3 separate regions of the Homo sapiens genome follow, and regions 2 and 3 are each linked to region 1. The links are contacts of gene promoters, found by promoter capture Hi-C in blood cells and fetal thymus (Javierre and others, 2016). All regions are on one chromosome and are shown on one strand. The core of a region is centred on a gene start or on the middle of the fragment in contact, and the rest is flanking DNA. Distances in the headings are between cores, read along the strand shown. Region 1 holds the start of XPNPEP1 (X-prolyl aminopeptidase 1). Region 2 holds the start of ACSL5 (acyl-CoA synthetase long chain family member 5). Region 3 holds the start of GPAM (glycerol-3-phosphate acyltransferase, mitochondrial).

Region 1 (5,147 bases), core at 1,612-4,111:
ACTGATCCTATTGCCAAATAAGATCACATTCGAAAGTACTAGGGGTTAGAGCTTCAACATATGAATTTTTGAGGTCACAATTCAATCCAACATATTTCTACGCATTTAATATTTCTGGCTACATCTAAGACCCACCCGGTCTGGGTGTGAATGCCAAAACCAGCTGTCTCCCTCTTTCTGCTGTGTGGGCTAGGAGACTGGATGAGGCCACCTCTAGGGTCCCTTCCAGATAACTTCGCGATTAAGTGTCAGGGCTAGGAATCCATCCTGCTGTCTGAATGTATGTTACAGTACCACCACTTACTAGCTCAGGGACTTTGGGCAAGGGGCTTAACCTCTGCAAATTTCAGTCTCCTCAACCAGTAAAATGAGGATAAGAGTCCTTCACCCATTGGTTTGTTGTGGGTTAGACACATAGCCTTCAATGAATGTCAGGCAGTGTGACTGTTCCACTTCTTTGAGGATGCAAGGACTGTAGAGCCAGGAGAAGAACCTATATAACTCCTGGTGTTCTCATTCTCTCATGGTAATTCAGTGCTATAACTTCTCCAGAGGTTCTCTTGTTAGAACTTCAAGAGCGAGGCCGGGCACAGTGGGTCATGCCTGTAATCCCAGCACTTTGGAAGGTCGAGGCCAAGGAGTTCAAGACCAGCCTGACCAACATGGTGAAACTCCGTCTCTACTAAATACAAAAAATTAGCCGGGTGTGGTGGCGCATGCCTGTAATCCCACCTACTTAGGAGGCTGAGGCAGGAGAATTGCTTGAAGCCGGGAGGCAGAGGTTGCAGTGAGCTGAGATTGTGCCATTGTACTCCAGCCTGGGCAAAAAGAGCAAAACTCCATCTCAAAAAACAAACAAACAAAAAAACTTCAAGAGGGGAAAGGGTTCCTTTTTTTATCTTGCAAACAGGAACTCAAATCCAGCTCAGGGAATGCAAGGTATTTCTCTCTCTCCCCTGAAGCTGGATGCCGTAAATTCTGAGCCAACTCCTTTTCTTTTAGGCAATGTGATTATTAAATACCTGTCCCCCTTAAGTTTCACTTATCTCTCTCTCTCTTATCTCGTTTTCTCTTATAACTTGATTTTTCCCACCAGCTTTCAGATGTGGGCTGGAACCAGTATTTTATTTACAATCTCTCTGTTTTTGGCTTCATAAATTTGGGGAAATGCAACAGATGTGTGCTGCTTTCCCAGGAAGCACATCTTTAGTTTTTTCATGCTTTAACTACACAGTCTAATTCGGCTTGCCTAAATGCTTATTCAATAACGACTTTGAGTTCTTGCAGGTAGCAGAACCTAGCTGATACAGGTATATTAGGCCTTACACCAAGGTCAAAGCAGGAGGAGGTGCCATTCACCTTTAAAAAAATGTGGTCACTTTCATTTAGTGCCAGGTGTTGTTCTAAGCACCAGGGAAATAACAATGAACAAGAGAGCCACCATCCCTGCTTTTGAGGAGTGCACATTCTGAAACATTCATTTCTGCAGAAAATATATAATGAGAACTTATGACATGTTAGATATTGTTCATCATTAAACAAAACAGAAACAATCTGCACTGATGGTTTTGTTGTGTGCGTGGGTGGTGGCAGGAGAGGGGGAAGAATACAGTACACATAAGTACATTAAAAGAATCCTGTTAAAAGGTGGTAAGTGCTATGGAAAAAATGAAGTAGGGTAAGGCGGATTAGGAATATTGGAATGATTTACAAATTTAAATAGGATGGTCAGGGTAGGTGATACTTGAACGAAGACTTGAAGGAAAATGAGGAAGGGAGCCTCAATATTTGGGGGATGAGCAAGTCCAAAAGCCCTGGGACATGAGTGTACCCTGCTTTTTCAAGGAGAGCCAGGAGGCCATTTCAGCTGAAGAAGAGTGAGGAAGGTGAGAACAGGAGGAAATGTGGCTGGGGGTAGATCAAATGGAGCTTTTATGCTGCGTGAAACGAGAAATTAATGGAAAGTGCTGAGCAAAGAAGTGACCTGGTGTCACGCTTCAAAGGACTGGTCTGGCGGCTTTGTTCAGGCTGGACTGTGCAGGTGCGGGATGGTGAGGGGATATTTGGGGGGCTGCTGTAACCACACGGGTGGGGTGGTACAACCCTCTGATGCACATCAGAGGGTAGGAGGTGGAGGTGGTGTGACACGGCCAGATTAGGGGTCTATTTTGGAGGCAGGGCCAACAAGATTTTGCTGGCAGATTAGATGTGGGGTGTGAAAGAGAAGAGGCAGGGAGGATTCCTAAATTTTGCCTCTTAAGAATAGAGTAGCCATTGATTGAGATGGCAAAGAAGACTGGTGGAGAACGTTTTTGCTTTGCTTCGGTGCATTGGGAGTTCCAGGAGTTCCGTTTGGACGTTAAGTTTGAAGGGGCTATTTACTATCCAAGCGGAGCGGAGAGCTGGATTTTGAAGCTCTCTGGGAACATACTTTTGGGGACATTTCTAAAGCTTGAGACCCTGTTCCAAAGCCTCGAAGACCCTGTCGAGGTTCTTCCGGAGCCGGCCACGTCCCTCTCTTCTCAGCCCTCCTAAATTAAGCCGGAAAATCCCTGGGACAGTAGCCCCTTTATTCGGCAAAGCCCTTTTTCCTCTTTGAGGAATGACGACAAAAACGAACAAAAATGAAGACACTCAGCAGCACTGCGTCCTTTCCCCGCTCGCTGCAGGGAGAGGCAATGCGGACTGGTGTGGAAGGGCAGGCCCCGCTCTGGGCCGCAGGCGCTGCGGCCGCGAACCCCAGGTCCGGGAGTGTGGGCGGGGCCTGCGTGTGGGCGGGGCCGCGGCGCCAGCGCCCGCCACGGGCGAGGGCGTGGCCGACCCGGCGCTAGCCCGCCCGCCCGCCCGCCGGCTCTCGCGCCTCCTTCGCGCCGGCCCTTCCGCGGGTGATCAGCTGGTCTGCGCTCCCCTGACGTGGGCTGGGGCACGTCACCGCCGAATGGCAGCCTCCAGAAAGCCACCGCGAGTAAGGTGAGGGCACTCCGCCGGCAGCCGGCGTCCGGGCAGCGTGCAGCCCTCGCTGCGCGGCCGCGCGTGTTGCACCTCGGCGGGCAGGGACGCGCGGGTGAGGAGCCCGGCCCGCCGCAGTCTGGCGAGGGCCGCGCTCGCCGGAGCCCCGGAACAGGAGCCGGGGGAAGGGGTCCATGAGGCCGGGCGAGATCCGGTTCGTTTCCGGAGGGTCGGTGGGCACGGGGCGGCCCGAGTCTGGTTCCTGGACGCGTATGCCCGCGGAACTGCTGCACTCGGCCTGAGGGGGCGGCGGCCGTCACAGTTCCTGGCCCGCGGGAAGGCCCCGTTCTTGGAGGAAGTTGGCCCCTCTTCGTGTCCGGGGAGGTGGGCGAGCCTTTGCCCTCGCTTCTGTTACCCAGGAATCTAAACCTCAAGTTACAATCTCGACAATACTGACTCCTGCAATTCACTCTACTGATCTGTCACCGCCACAAGGATAGACGGTCGCGGGCCCCTCCCTACCCAAATGGTTTCAGAGGCTGTGTAAGGGAATATTTTGGTATAATCTCCAGGAAAATCCCCCCAGTAGCCTGCCCTGGGCTCTCCTTGGGCATAGGAGGGTGAGACAGATAATTTCCCGGCCTCAAGTTAAACATGTTTTAGTTTATTCCCCTGCCATAACCAGGATGTACTTATCAGAGCCTCTGACAAAGTGGGAGACGGAGAGAGGTGTTCAGAGTTCATGGAGGCCACAGGCCAGACTCCCTGGCCATCCCCAAGGGGTCACCCACCTGCTAACCACTTGAGACATGAATGCACTCACTTTGCAGCATGGCCAGGCTTTCTTGCTGAACACAGACCATGGCTCCTGCTTGTGTTTGTGAGTAGGGGGGTCCCAAACCTACCTTGACCTGGATTTGCCGTTGCCACAGCTTGTTAAGGGTGAGCAGAAAACCAGACCCACCCTGTGGAAGTATGTGGGAGGGGTGGAGAACTTCCATCTGGAAGGAGCTTCCTGTAAGTGAAGTGCTGGAAATGGAGTCAGGCAAGTGGATAATGATGAGTTAGGCTGTAGGCCTCAGGTGGTCTTTAGGGGGCCAAGGTGATCTGTGCTAGATTTATAGACTCACAGCCTTTTAGGAGCAGAAGAGTCTTTTCTACACCAGCTGGTAGAGTCTTTTTTACCTCAAAGGAAAGTCCAGTGAAAGGCTGAGAGAGGGGAAGCCATTTTCCACAGGCGCCTCCCCTACTGGTAGAATTTGAGTGCCATTCCTTGTAAAAGTGAGCACTTCTTTCAGTTTCGGTAATGGAAACTGAACTCAAATTGATTTACCTAAAATGGGGTTGAGCTGGCTTCTAGTGTGGCTGAATCCGGGAGCACCACCAACATTGGCTTCAGACTTCTCTTTATCATCTCTTGGCTCTGATTTATTCAGTATCCGCTTCATTCTCAGGGAGACTTTCTCCTTATGGCAGGTTATGACAGTTCTAGGCTGACAGCCCCAGCAGAGAAGTTGAGCCCTCCTTCCTAATGGAGCAGAAGTCCCTGATCTGATGCTCACTGGGCTGCCTTAATTCTCATGTTCATCTGTGAACCAATCATTATGGCCAGAGGGAGGGATTGACCTGCTTTGGGTCCCAGAGCCTGTTAGGTGTTTGGATAAGACTGCTTTGAACCCCTTGGGCTGAAATGGAGAGGGTACATTCTCAAAAGGAAAACCAAGGTTCCCATCAAAAGGAGGGATGGATTCTGGGTAGACAAAGACAACATTGCTTACTTCCCAACCTTAGAACTTGTTCCAGTTTACCCTTGTCTCATCCACTAGGTGTGATTGAGCATCTTGTTCCTTGTTTTGCCCCATGCTGAACGCTACACATGTGTGATTCCCATGAACTGGGGGTTGCAGGGGGGTGAGGTATTCAGAACCCTGCCAGAATTTCTTGGAAAAAGAGGGAGAAGGCCTTTTCTAGTGCTACCATAACCATCTTATACAAAGATTGAAAGTGCTCTGCATGCTTCTTGCCCCTTACCCACTTTGTGGCTCATCATGAAGTTGAGAAGGTGTAGGTCGAAGAAGTTCTGGGAAGGGTAGGAGCACTGAGCTGGATGTTGGGAGGCTGGAACGCTGGTTCTAGCTCTGTCAGCAGTTAGCTGTGAGGCCTTGAGCCAGTCATTTGATCTTTGTTTCTTGGTTTCC
Region 2 (5,147 bases), core at 765-3,264, 2.5 Mb before region 1:
CCTTTCAGACCACCAAAAAAAGGCTGATATCTCAGAAGGTACCAAGCCCCGGTGGTAGAGTCCCTTTCCAGTGCTTATTCCCTGAGGGTCTCCGGTGGTAGAGTCCCTTTCCAGTGCTTATTCCCTGAGGGTCTCCGGTGGTAGAGTCCCTTTCCAGTGCTTATTCCCTGAGGGTCTCCAGTGGTAGAGTCCCTTTCCAGTGCTTACTCCCTGAGGGTCTTTGAGATTCACCTTAGGACCCTCAGGGAGTGGGCATTGGGAAGGAAGTACTTAGGAATTAAGCAGCACCTGAGACTTAACCTGTGGCCTTACTTCCTAAAATACACTCAGCTCCATTCATCTGTCTCTCCCACCCCATTGGTCTCATTCATCAGTCTTACCCAACATAAAATTGAGGGCAAACCCCCAGCCCACCTCAGGGGAGCTATGCTGGATGCTCAGACCCACAAAAAGAGGTCTCTGTTTTGGTTCACCTTCCCCAAGAGAGTCGAGAGAAGGAAAGTGAGCCCCATGCATGCCCCACATCCTTCCTTCCCGTTGCTCCTCCTGACACAGGGTCTGAAGGCATGACCGAGACCAGGAGGGAGACAGCATGATGTGCCCGTGGAACTCAGCCGGCCCTTGATTCTAAGTCGCTTAAAGAAAGTCGGGGGTCAGGATGCCCCCTTGGCCTCTGTCACACCCTCACAAGACCCCCTTGCTGAATAACACCCCCTCGATGGTCCCCTTACCCTGCGAGGGGGCCGCATCTCTCAGTGCTTCTAGTGAATGGGGGCTTCCCGGCTCTGAGTTCTTCCTGCCACACGAGTCCCTGTCCTTCTTCCCTCGCTCGTGGTTCCTCCAGAGACAGGGTGGCTTCAGAGCGTCCATGCAGGCAGAAGGCCGGCCCAGAGTGTCCCCAGTTCTGCCCTGCTCTGAGCTGTCCCGAGTCAGGCCATGTCAGGCTTTCTAACGTGCTCGGGGACTTCACTTCCTGGTTTTAATTTTTTTTTTCACAACTGAAAGTGGAAGTGTTCTGACCAGGAGGGGAGAAGCTGCCAAAGCTACCCTGGCTCCGTGTCAAAGCCTTTCACCTCAGCCCCTAAGGGCCGACACAAAAGCCAGCTTGCCTCAACACAGTTGACCCTGCCCTCCTGTGGCCTATCATCTTTCAACTAAGATGAAAACAAACAAACTAAAATGACTTGAGGTGCCCCCTCAGATCAGAAGCCTCACAGAGGCAGAGGTGACGCTGTTCCCTGCTGGATTCGGAGGACAGGAAAGTCTGGCTAGAGGGTACCTCAGCCCTCAGACCCACACAAACACCTTCTACCCCGCCTCTCTCCAGTCGCCAGAGCTGCCTGCCTTGGTCTCTGAAGAAGTTCTGGCAAAGCCAAGAAAATAAGCAAGTCAGGAACGACAGGGCTGTGAGTCGTTCAATTGGCATGGTTTCTTTCCCTCTGATACAGTCACACCTCAAAACTTAACTTAAAAATCGATTCTTTCGCCTTGGTCACCCCCAGTATTACCAGGACCTGTATTAGTCTCATTTTTGATCCGCCTAAGGCTGTGGCTACAGGGGGGCCCTGGAGCTACCATTCTCAGATTAGGAAGCCGAAATGACAAATTTTCCTGCCCCTTCCCCACCTCACAGATACCTCAGAATGAAGCAGCACTTTCTCCAGCCTCGATCCCCCACGAAGGCTCACAGGAAGTTCAGCATGATCCTGGCTCTTTGCTGGAGCTAGATTAGGGTTTGTTCTTTCTACAGAGCAGTTCTTAAAAGCTTCCTACTAAGGAAGCCAGGGTGAGCTGTGCCACAGTCTCAGAGAACACAAGAGCTGAGCCCTTGGCCTCTGGGGAGCCGCCTTTGGACATGGAAGAAAGATGAAGGGCTGGGAGACGAAGTGGGGCCTGTGGCATTCCATCCTCTGGCTCATCTCACGGCTGGAGGAGCACTTGTCATTTGCTTAGTTTCAGGAACTCAGCTCCCCAAGAGGCAACTTCCTCTAGAGGAGAGCAGAGGATGGCAGAGTGGGTGTCGAATCTCAGCCACACTAATACCTCTGAGCCCTTCACCGGGTGCTGTCTTCCTTCACCAAAGGGCTCAGGGCCAGGGGAAGATGAGGTTTTATTTCTTTTTTTTTTATTGACCTCCTCCAGTAAAAATGCTCAAGTTCAGGAAGGTTGAGTCATTCTAAAGGCCCATCAGAGTTGTATTCCTATCAATCCTCTGTGCACATGAGTGACACCCTCAGGATTTCAGGGGGTAACTGAAAGCTTTGGCAACCCACAACAATTCTGCATTATTGGGCAGGCTGTGGAAACTGACCAATCAAGTCTCAAATTCTAGCCACACCACCTTGGAGCTATGTAGCTTAGGCCATGCTGTTTAACAGCCTGGAGACGCACTATGCCTCTGTGAAATGGGAAGGATACCACCTGCTTTATAGGATGAGATACACCAATGAAGTAACATACATAATCTACCCAGAACAGTCCCCAGCACCTAATCGAATATCTGCTGATTCCCTTCCTCTCTGTCTGCCAAATGGGACTCTCTGCCCTCAGCAGCTGACGCACGATCCTTCTAACTACACTGAGACAGAAATTTCTTAATGGAAGATGAAGGAGACCCACATTCTGGCTTGGTGTGCTTTAGTACACTTACCAAAATCAGTGTTCCCTTCCAATTCCATCCCCTGCTAGCATTTGGATAGCTCATATATCTCCACCCCTTTTCCAACTGATTTTTTTCTTTGCCTCCCACACAAGTCAGCTGAGATTACTATTCAACTAAATGTAATTTCATGTTATTAAAGAGCCTTAGGTTGAGCATAACAAATCCCACTTTCTTTCCCCACACCAATCCCCTCCCTACTATCTCACAGATATATTCAATATAGTGCAGGTAGTATCATTGCAGCTTACCTTGGAAGAAGACTCTCCCTTCCTGGGTCCAGGAAGTGCTCCCCTCACAGCTGGCTGTATTGATTCAGCACCACATTCAGGCACTTCTACTCTTTCCACAGCTCCTAGGACTGACTGGGACACACCCGAAGCTACTGTGTACTGTCCTGAGAGTGGCCAACACACTCCCCTGGAACCTTTGAATCTGTCACAACAGAAGTTCAAAGGTAGAAGTTACCTGTTCAAACACTTGTAGTAACCTCTGACAGTAAGAAAAGCAGTGTTGGGCAAAAGATTAAAACAAGAGATTGTTATGCAATGGGCTTAAGCGGGAAAAAAAAAAAAGACGGCCCTTAGTTCAGAAAGCTAACGTTTACCAAGAGAAACCTTCGATAAAGCTCTACCTCAGGGGAAGGAGAAGGGGTAGACAGGGCTTTGCATCTGCTTTGGGGGCACAATCCTTGAGACTGTGATAGGAAGAGGAAGGTCTAGATTACTAGAAGAAAAAGGGCTCCTTGAGATCAGAGTGAGAGAAAAATGAGAAGCCACTTTAATTGGCTCAAGCTATAACTTTAGGATTCAGACTAAGCAGAGGTGTGCATTTGCAGACCAGCTATCTTCTAGAAGGGACCACTGCCCCCTTCAGAATTAGAACGTCTCCAAGACAACCAAATGAGCCAAATCAGTCTAGAGTCTAGGCTGAGAGACAAGCCTAGGACGGTTGTTTTTAGGATTCGGAATCACGAACACAGTCTGCAGCACACATAGTTTAGCAAGGCGCTAGAATAGGAAGCATTGCTTCCTGGCTAACACGGTGAAACCCCGTCTCTACTGAATACACAAAAAATTAGCCGGGCGTGGTGGTGGGCCCCTGTAGTCCCAGCTACTTGGGAGGCTGAGGCAGGAGAATGGTGTGAACCCGGGAGGTGGAGCTTGCAGTGAGCCAAGATCGCGCCACTGCACTCCAGCCTGGGCGACACAGCGAGACTCTGTCTCAAAAAAAAAAAAAAAAAAAGAAGCATTGCTACTGCGTCATGGCTCAGCCATCCTACTCTCTCCTTTTTTTTTTTTTTTTTTTTTTTTGAGACGGAGTCTCACCGCAACCTCCACTTCCTGAGTTCAAGCAATTCTCCTGCCTCAGCCTCTGGAGTGGCTGGGATTACAGGCATGCACCACAATGCCTGGCTAATTTTTTTTTTTTTTTTTGTATTTTTAGCAGAGACAGGGTTTCACCATGTTGGCCAGGCTGGTCTCGAACTCCTGACTTCAAGTGATCTGCCTGCCTCGGCCTCCCGAAGTGCTGGGATTATAGGCATGAGCCACCATGCCCAGCCTCTCTTTCCACTTTGAAGTTCTCTAGTCACCATTCTTGATTCCAAGATCATTAGGACTGCAAGGCATCATTACTAAACAAAAACAGTGGGTAGAAATGAAAGAAACCCTGGAGATGATGTGCAAACTTACTGTATAGGTGAGGCCAGTGAGGCCTTTTCAGGTGAAAGAAGGCTTCTGGAATCACACAACCAGTCGGTCAAGACAGCACCTGACTCAGAGTCATGAGAACCCCTGCAGTGCCTTGGCCCCTATGCTGCCCCATTGATCTGTGTATGTTTAGCTACCAGAATGAAGCCGCGGACCCTCGCAGTGAGTGTTACAGTTCTTAAAGGCGGTGTGTCTAGAGTTTGTTCCTTCTGATGTTCAGATGTGTTCAGAGTTTCTTCCTTCTGGTGGGTTTGTGGTCTTGCTGGCTCAGGAGTAAAGCTACAGACCTTTGCAGTGAGCATTACAGCTCATAAAAGCAGCGTAGACCCAAAGAGTGAGCAGTAGCAAGATTTATTGCAAAGAGCTAAAGAACAAACCTTCCACAGTGTGAAAAGAACCCCAGGTGGTTGCCACTCCGGGCTCGGACAGCCTGCTTTTATTCTTTTATCTGGCCCCACCCACATCCTACTGATTGGTCCATTTTACAGAGAGCCGATTGGTCTGTTTTACAGAGAGCTGATTGGTCCGTTTTGACAGGGTGCTGATTGGTGTGTTTACAATCCCTGAGCTAGACACAAAAGTTCGCCATGTCCCCACTAGATTAGCTAGATACAGAGTGTTGACACAAAAGTTTTCCATGTCCCCACTAGATTAGCTAGATCCAGAGTGTCGATTGGTGCATTCACAAACCCTGAGCTAGACCAGGGTGCTGAATGGTTTACAAACCTTGAGCTAGACACAGAGTGCCAATTGGTGTATTTACAATCCCTTAGCTA
Region 3 (5,147 bases), core at 1,872-4,371, 2.3 Mb before region 1:
GATTTTCCAAATACCTTTAAGTTAGTGGTTTCTAATTTCTACCGTGCTCAGAGTATATGTTTTATGATTTGGATCCTTATATGTGCATCAAGACTTGTTTTATGATCCAGAATATGACCTATCTTGGTGGATGTTCTGTGCACACTTGAATGTTTATTTTCCTGTTATTGGGTGGCATGTTCTATAAATGTCAATTAGATCAAGTTGGGTTGATAGTATTGTACAAGCCTTTTACATCCTTATTAATTTTTTACCCACAGTTCTATTAGTTATTGGGGGAGGGGTATTGAAATGGCTGACTACAATTGTAGATTTTTAAAATTTCTTCTTGCAATTCGATTAGTTTTTGATTTATATGTTTTGAAGTGCTGTATTAGAGGAATAAATATGTAGAATCAGTTTGTCCTCATTATGAATTGACCCTTTTATCATTATAAAATGATCCTCTATATTTCTGATAATATTCTTTGTATTGAAATTATATGATATTAATATACCCACCTATATTTCTTTTGATTAGCATTAGTATAGCATACTGTTTTCTAACCTTTTACTTTTACTTGTCTTAATATTTAAAGTGAGTTTTTAAATAGGTGGCATATCATTGGATCTTCATTTTTTTTCCAGTCTGACAATATCTGCCTTTTAATTAGGGTGATTACTTATATGAGCTTAAATCTATCATCTTGCCATGTATTTTCTCTTTATTCTATCTATTCTTTCTTTTCTCCCCCATCATTTACTGCCTTCTTTTGAATTCATTAAACATCTTAAAAATTCGACTTAAGCTTCTTTGTTGATGTGTTAACAATAACTCTTAGTTTTGCTTTCATAGTAGTTGCTTTAGGAGTTAAAGTATACATTTTTAACTTATTACAGTTTACCTTCAAGTATATTATACTGCTTGGTGCGTAAGATAAGAATCTTACAACAGAATACTTCTCCCTTCCTGGACTTTGTGCTGTTGTCATCATACATTTTATTTGTACATGTTATAAACCCCACAAAATATTGTTTTTGTTTGTGCATTAAGCAATCATGTTTTAAAAGAGTTTTAATGGCTGACATGGTGGCTCACTCTTATAATCCCAGCACTTTGGGAGGTCGAGGCAGGCGCATCACTTGAGGTCAGGAGATCGAGACCGGCCTGGGCAATATGGTGAAACCCCAACTCTACTAAACATACAGAAAAAAATTAGCTGGGCGTTGTGGCGGGTGCCTGTAATCCCAGCTACTCGGGAGGCTGAGGCATGAAAATTGCTTGAACCTGTGAGGAGGAGGTTTCAGTGAGCTGAGATCACGCCACTGCACCACTGCACTCCAGCCTGGGTGACAGAGCGAGATTCCATCTCAAAAATAAAATAAAATAAATTAAAATAAAAGGGTTTAAAAAATAAGAAAAATTATTTACCTACGTATTTGTGGTTTCTTAAGCTCTTAATTCCTTTGCATAGATTCAGAATTCCATCTGACAGCATTTTTTTTTTGCCTGAAAGACTTTCTTTAACATTGCTTATAGAACGGTCCTGCTGGTGATGAATTCTTTTGGCAATTCGATGTCAAAATATGTTTTTATTTTATTTTTTTGATATATATAAAAATATATAAAATGTACATACCATATATTAATATAAAAAGAACTCTTGATTGATAGGTTCTTCATTCAGTACTTCAGATGCTGCTCCACCATCTTCTGGTTTGCATTTTTCTGATGTGAAATCTGCTGTCATTCTTATCTTTGTTCCTCTGTACAGTAATGTCTTTTTTTTTCTCTCTGATAGCTTTTAAGATTTTCTCTTTATCAGTGGCTTTAGGCATTTTGATTGTGATGTTTCTTGGTATGGTTTTCTTCATGTTTCTACTGAGTTTGTTGAGCTTTTTGGGTTTATAAGTTTATAGTTTTGGTCAAATTTGGAAAGTTTTCATCAATTATTCTTTCAAATGCTTTTTTCTGTCCTCCCTAATCTATTCTCACCTCATATTTCTCATTTTCTTCAGGGACTACAATTGCATGTATACTAGGCTCACTGATACTCTACTTTTACTTTCAGTATTTTTCTTCCCTTAGTGTTTCATTTTGGATAGTTTCTATCACAATGCTTTCAAGTTTTTTTTTGTTTGTTTGTTTTTGTTTTTGAGACAGAGTCTCGCTCTGTCACCCAAGCTGGAGTGCAGTGGCACAATCTTGGCTCACTGCAAGCTCTGCCTCCTGGGTTCACGCCATTCTCCTGCCTCAGCCTCCCGTCAGGTTTTTTACTGTTTCTTTTTTAGTAATGTCTAACCTATTAATCCTGTGTGTGTGTGTGTGTGTGTGTGTGTGTGTGTGTGTGTGTGTGTCTGTGTGTGTGTGTTAGGGTGTTAAAAATCTTAGATGTGGTTTTATTATCTCCTAGATGTTTGGTTTGTGTCTTTTTTTTTTTTAAAGATTTTTCACATCTCTACTTCCCATGCTCAGTTTATTTTTTCTACTTGTTGAAAACATTGAATACAGTCATAATTACTTTCTTAATGTCCTTGTTCTCTTATTTTATCATCTCTGTCATTTCTGGGATGATTTCAATTGGTTGATTTTTTTTTCTCATTTCCTGCTTCTTTTCGCATGCCTGATAATTCTGTTTGGATTCCAGATGTTGCAAATTTTACCTTGTTAGGTGTTGGTTATTTTTAATTTCCTGTAAATATTCTTGTGCTTTGCTCTGGGACACTTTGTTCTCAAAAACGGTTTAATCCTTTGGTGGCTGGCTTTTAAGATTTCTAAGATAGAATCAGAGTAGCTTTTACATTAGAGCTAATTTTGCCCCACTACTGAAGCAAAACCATTTGAGTTGTGAATTATGAGGTTTTCCAGTCGGGGTGCCAGGATCAGGCACTATTTCTGGTCCTGTATAATCACTGGGTATCTTTCTACTCTGCCTTGTGGGAGCAGAATTAATTTCCTACCCTGTGCAAACTTTAGTAATTGCTCTCTCTTTTCTTCATACATGATTATTTCCTGCCCTTAGGTAGCTTCCTCACACACATGCTCTAATCAGCGGAAGACTGGAGTGAGATCTGTTGTAGATCTCCACAGCTCCTTCTTTCTCTGTGTAGCTTTCTCCTTTCTGATATACAACTCACAGTTCCAGCTGCTTTGGCCTCCCTGCTCTCCCAGTTCTATCTCTTCAACTCAGGGAGTCTGCCTAGCTCTTTTTGGCTGCTCCCTCTAGTTAGTAAATCAAGGCAATCATAGGGCTCACCTCATTTGTTTTCCCTCCTCAAGGACCACTGTCCAGCACAACGTTTAAAAGCCATTGTCTTATAAATGCCTGTTTGTTTTTGTTTTTAGTTGTTTTAGGCAGGAGAGTAAATTCAGTCCTGTTGCTCCATCTTAGCTGGCTAGACTGGATTGCTATAAATTTTAAACTATCTAAATAGTTGCATATATTTAGGGGGTACAAATCGATGTTATGACTTATGAATACAATGTGGAATAACTGAATCAAGCTAATTGACATATCCACCTCAAATACTTCTCAGTTTTCATGGTGAGAACTTTTGAAATGTACTCTTAGCGATTTTGAACTGTATAATACATTATTATTTACTATATTCACCATGCTGTGTAACATATAGTCCGAAGGGGGAAAAAAGCCCTTATTTCTCCTAACTGAGGCTTTTTATACTACAAGCCTTATTTGCTTCTTTTCATATCTCATTTTCCTCCTTAAAGGAAAAGGCACTCAGCCACTTTGGTAGAAATTACACAACATGGCCATTTGCAATCCCTGCCTCTCCCATTCGTAGTAAATCCTACATAGTCTTACAGATCTCATAAAAAGTCAGACCACACACATAACCTGATAGCCCACGCGCACATTCCCAACAGAGCCTGGAAGAGGGACAAGCTCCCGGATAAGCTGAATTTACACAAAGCAGAATGAGGTACCCACACACACTCACACACGCATGGCCTAGGCAGGGTAACCATCTGTCCAGGCGCTCACACACTATCTTTAGCCACACACAGGCACGCACACTCGAGTACACACATTACACCCTCGGATCCGCTCACGCTCCCTGAGGCTCGCAGGCCGGGCCCCGCCCCCGGCGCTGGCTAGCCGGCGGCCCCGCGTCAATGCCACGCGCCGGTTGCGTCATCAGGGTGCGCCACTGCAGCTGGCATTGGCCGGGACTGGAAGTGCGGGCTTCTGCAGCAGCCGAAGCTGGAGCTGCTAGGGTGCGAACTGCCAGGGCAGGTGTGGGCTGCGGGAGGCTACTCGGGCCGGGAGCGCCGGGACAAGTGCATGGAGGTGGTGCGACTCCTGCAAGTTGCTGGGGCAGTCGTGTCCCCTATTCCCTGACACCCGAGCTCCGGTCTTCTCCCTGAGAAATCGGTCGGGCTCGTGCAGGGGTGGGGATCAGGATTCATCTCTCCTGGGGAGACTGCGCTGGGGCATGGGTTCCCCTGGGTTGGAAGGAGTCCTTATGGACTCAGTCCCCTAAGTATCTGCACGCGCGGAGGCGCCGCCAGCCAGCCCGCCTGGGTCCCTAGGGAACATTGAGGCAGTAAGGGGTACTCTGAGAGCAGCCGGTATGCTGGAGATAATTAATGACAGCGTTACCATTGATTGGACTGAGCGCTCACTGTGTGTTACACACTGTGGTAGACCCTTTGTTTATATTATTCCGTCCTCTCAACAATCCAGGAGGTTAAGAGCTATCATTCTGCCCATTTTCCAGATGGGAAAACTAAGGCATAGAAGTTAACCAACTTATGGTAATAAAAAATCACACAGATGGTAAGCAGTGGAAGATTTAAACCTCACAGCTGGTCTTCCAGCCTCTGTCCTTTTCAGATCCTCTAGTCAGCTTCTCTCAGCGCATGCTGCTGGCTGGTGCCTCTGGGATATTGCTTCTTTATTACTCCTTGACCTAGAGCGAACTGTGCGGAGGGAGGAAGTGCAAAACGTGGACCTCCTGTTGGCACAAACGAGCCTCTTTGTCCTCTCCTCATCCTCTCTTCACTTCATTTTCTCAGGCAGCAGCGGCTCCCCTGTTGTATGGACATTCTGCACCCGAAACTGATAGCTGAGTCCTGAAGTTTTATGTTATGAAACAGAAGAACTTTCATCCCAGGTGCATTGGTTTATTCTCTCCCCTAGCCTGTT

Evidence for each region. The method cuts DNA at HindIII sites, captures the fragments that hold promoters and counts their contacts. A CHiCAGO score of 5 or more calls a contact.
Region 2: a fragment that was not itself captured here is called in contact with the fragment with the promoter of XPNPEP1 in region 1 in 1 of 17 cell types (total B cells); the score reaches 5.5 in total B cells.
Region 3: a fragment that was not itself captured here is called in contact with the fragment with the promoter of XPNPEP1 in region 1 in 1 of 17 cell types (total CD4 T cells); the score reaches 6.1 in total CD4 T cells.

The regions. Positions count from the first base shown.
Region 1 is chr10:109,921,225-109,926,371 of GRCh38, reverse strand. It overlaps XPNPEP1 (X-prolyl aminopeptidase 1), which reads left to right and starts at 2,861. Exons shown (of 21, transcript NM_020383.4): 1 at 2,861-2,970. The coding sequence starts at 2,939. RefSeq lists a silencer at 2,646-3,185. The HindIII fragment of the contact is 9,615 bases long and covers 2,454-5,147 here.
Region 2 is chr10:112,372,033-112,377,179 of GRCh38, reverse strand. It overlaps ACSL5 (acyl-CoA synthetase long chain family member 5), which reads right to left and starts at 3,064. Exons shown (of 21, transcript NM_203379.2): 1 at 2,911-3,064. RefSeq lists enhancers at 331-831, 854-1,073, 832-1,332, 1,214-1,363. The HindIII fragment of the contact is 494 bases long and covers 1,768-2,261 here.
Region 3 is chr10:112,182,762-112,187,908 of GRCh38, reverse strand. It overlaps GPAM (glycerol-3-phosphate acyltransferase, mitochondrial), which reads left to right and starts at 4,144. Exons shown (of 22, transcript NM_001244949.2): 1 at 4,144-4,216; 2 at 5,018-5,115. RefSeq lists a silencer at 3,997-4,226. The HindIII fragment of the contact is 4,662 bases long and covers 791-5,147 here.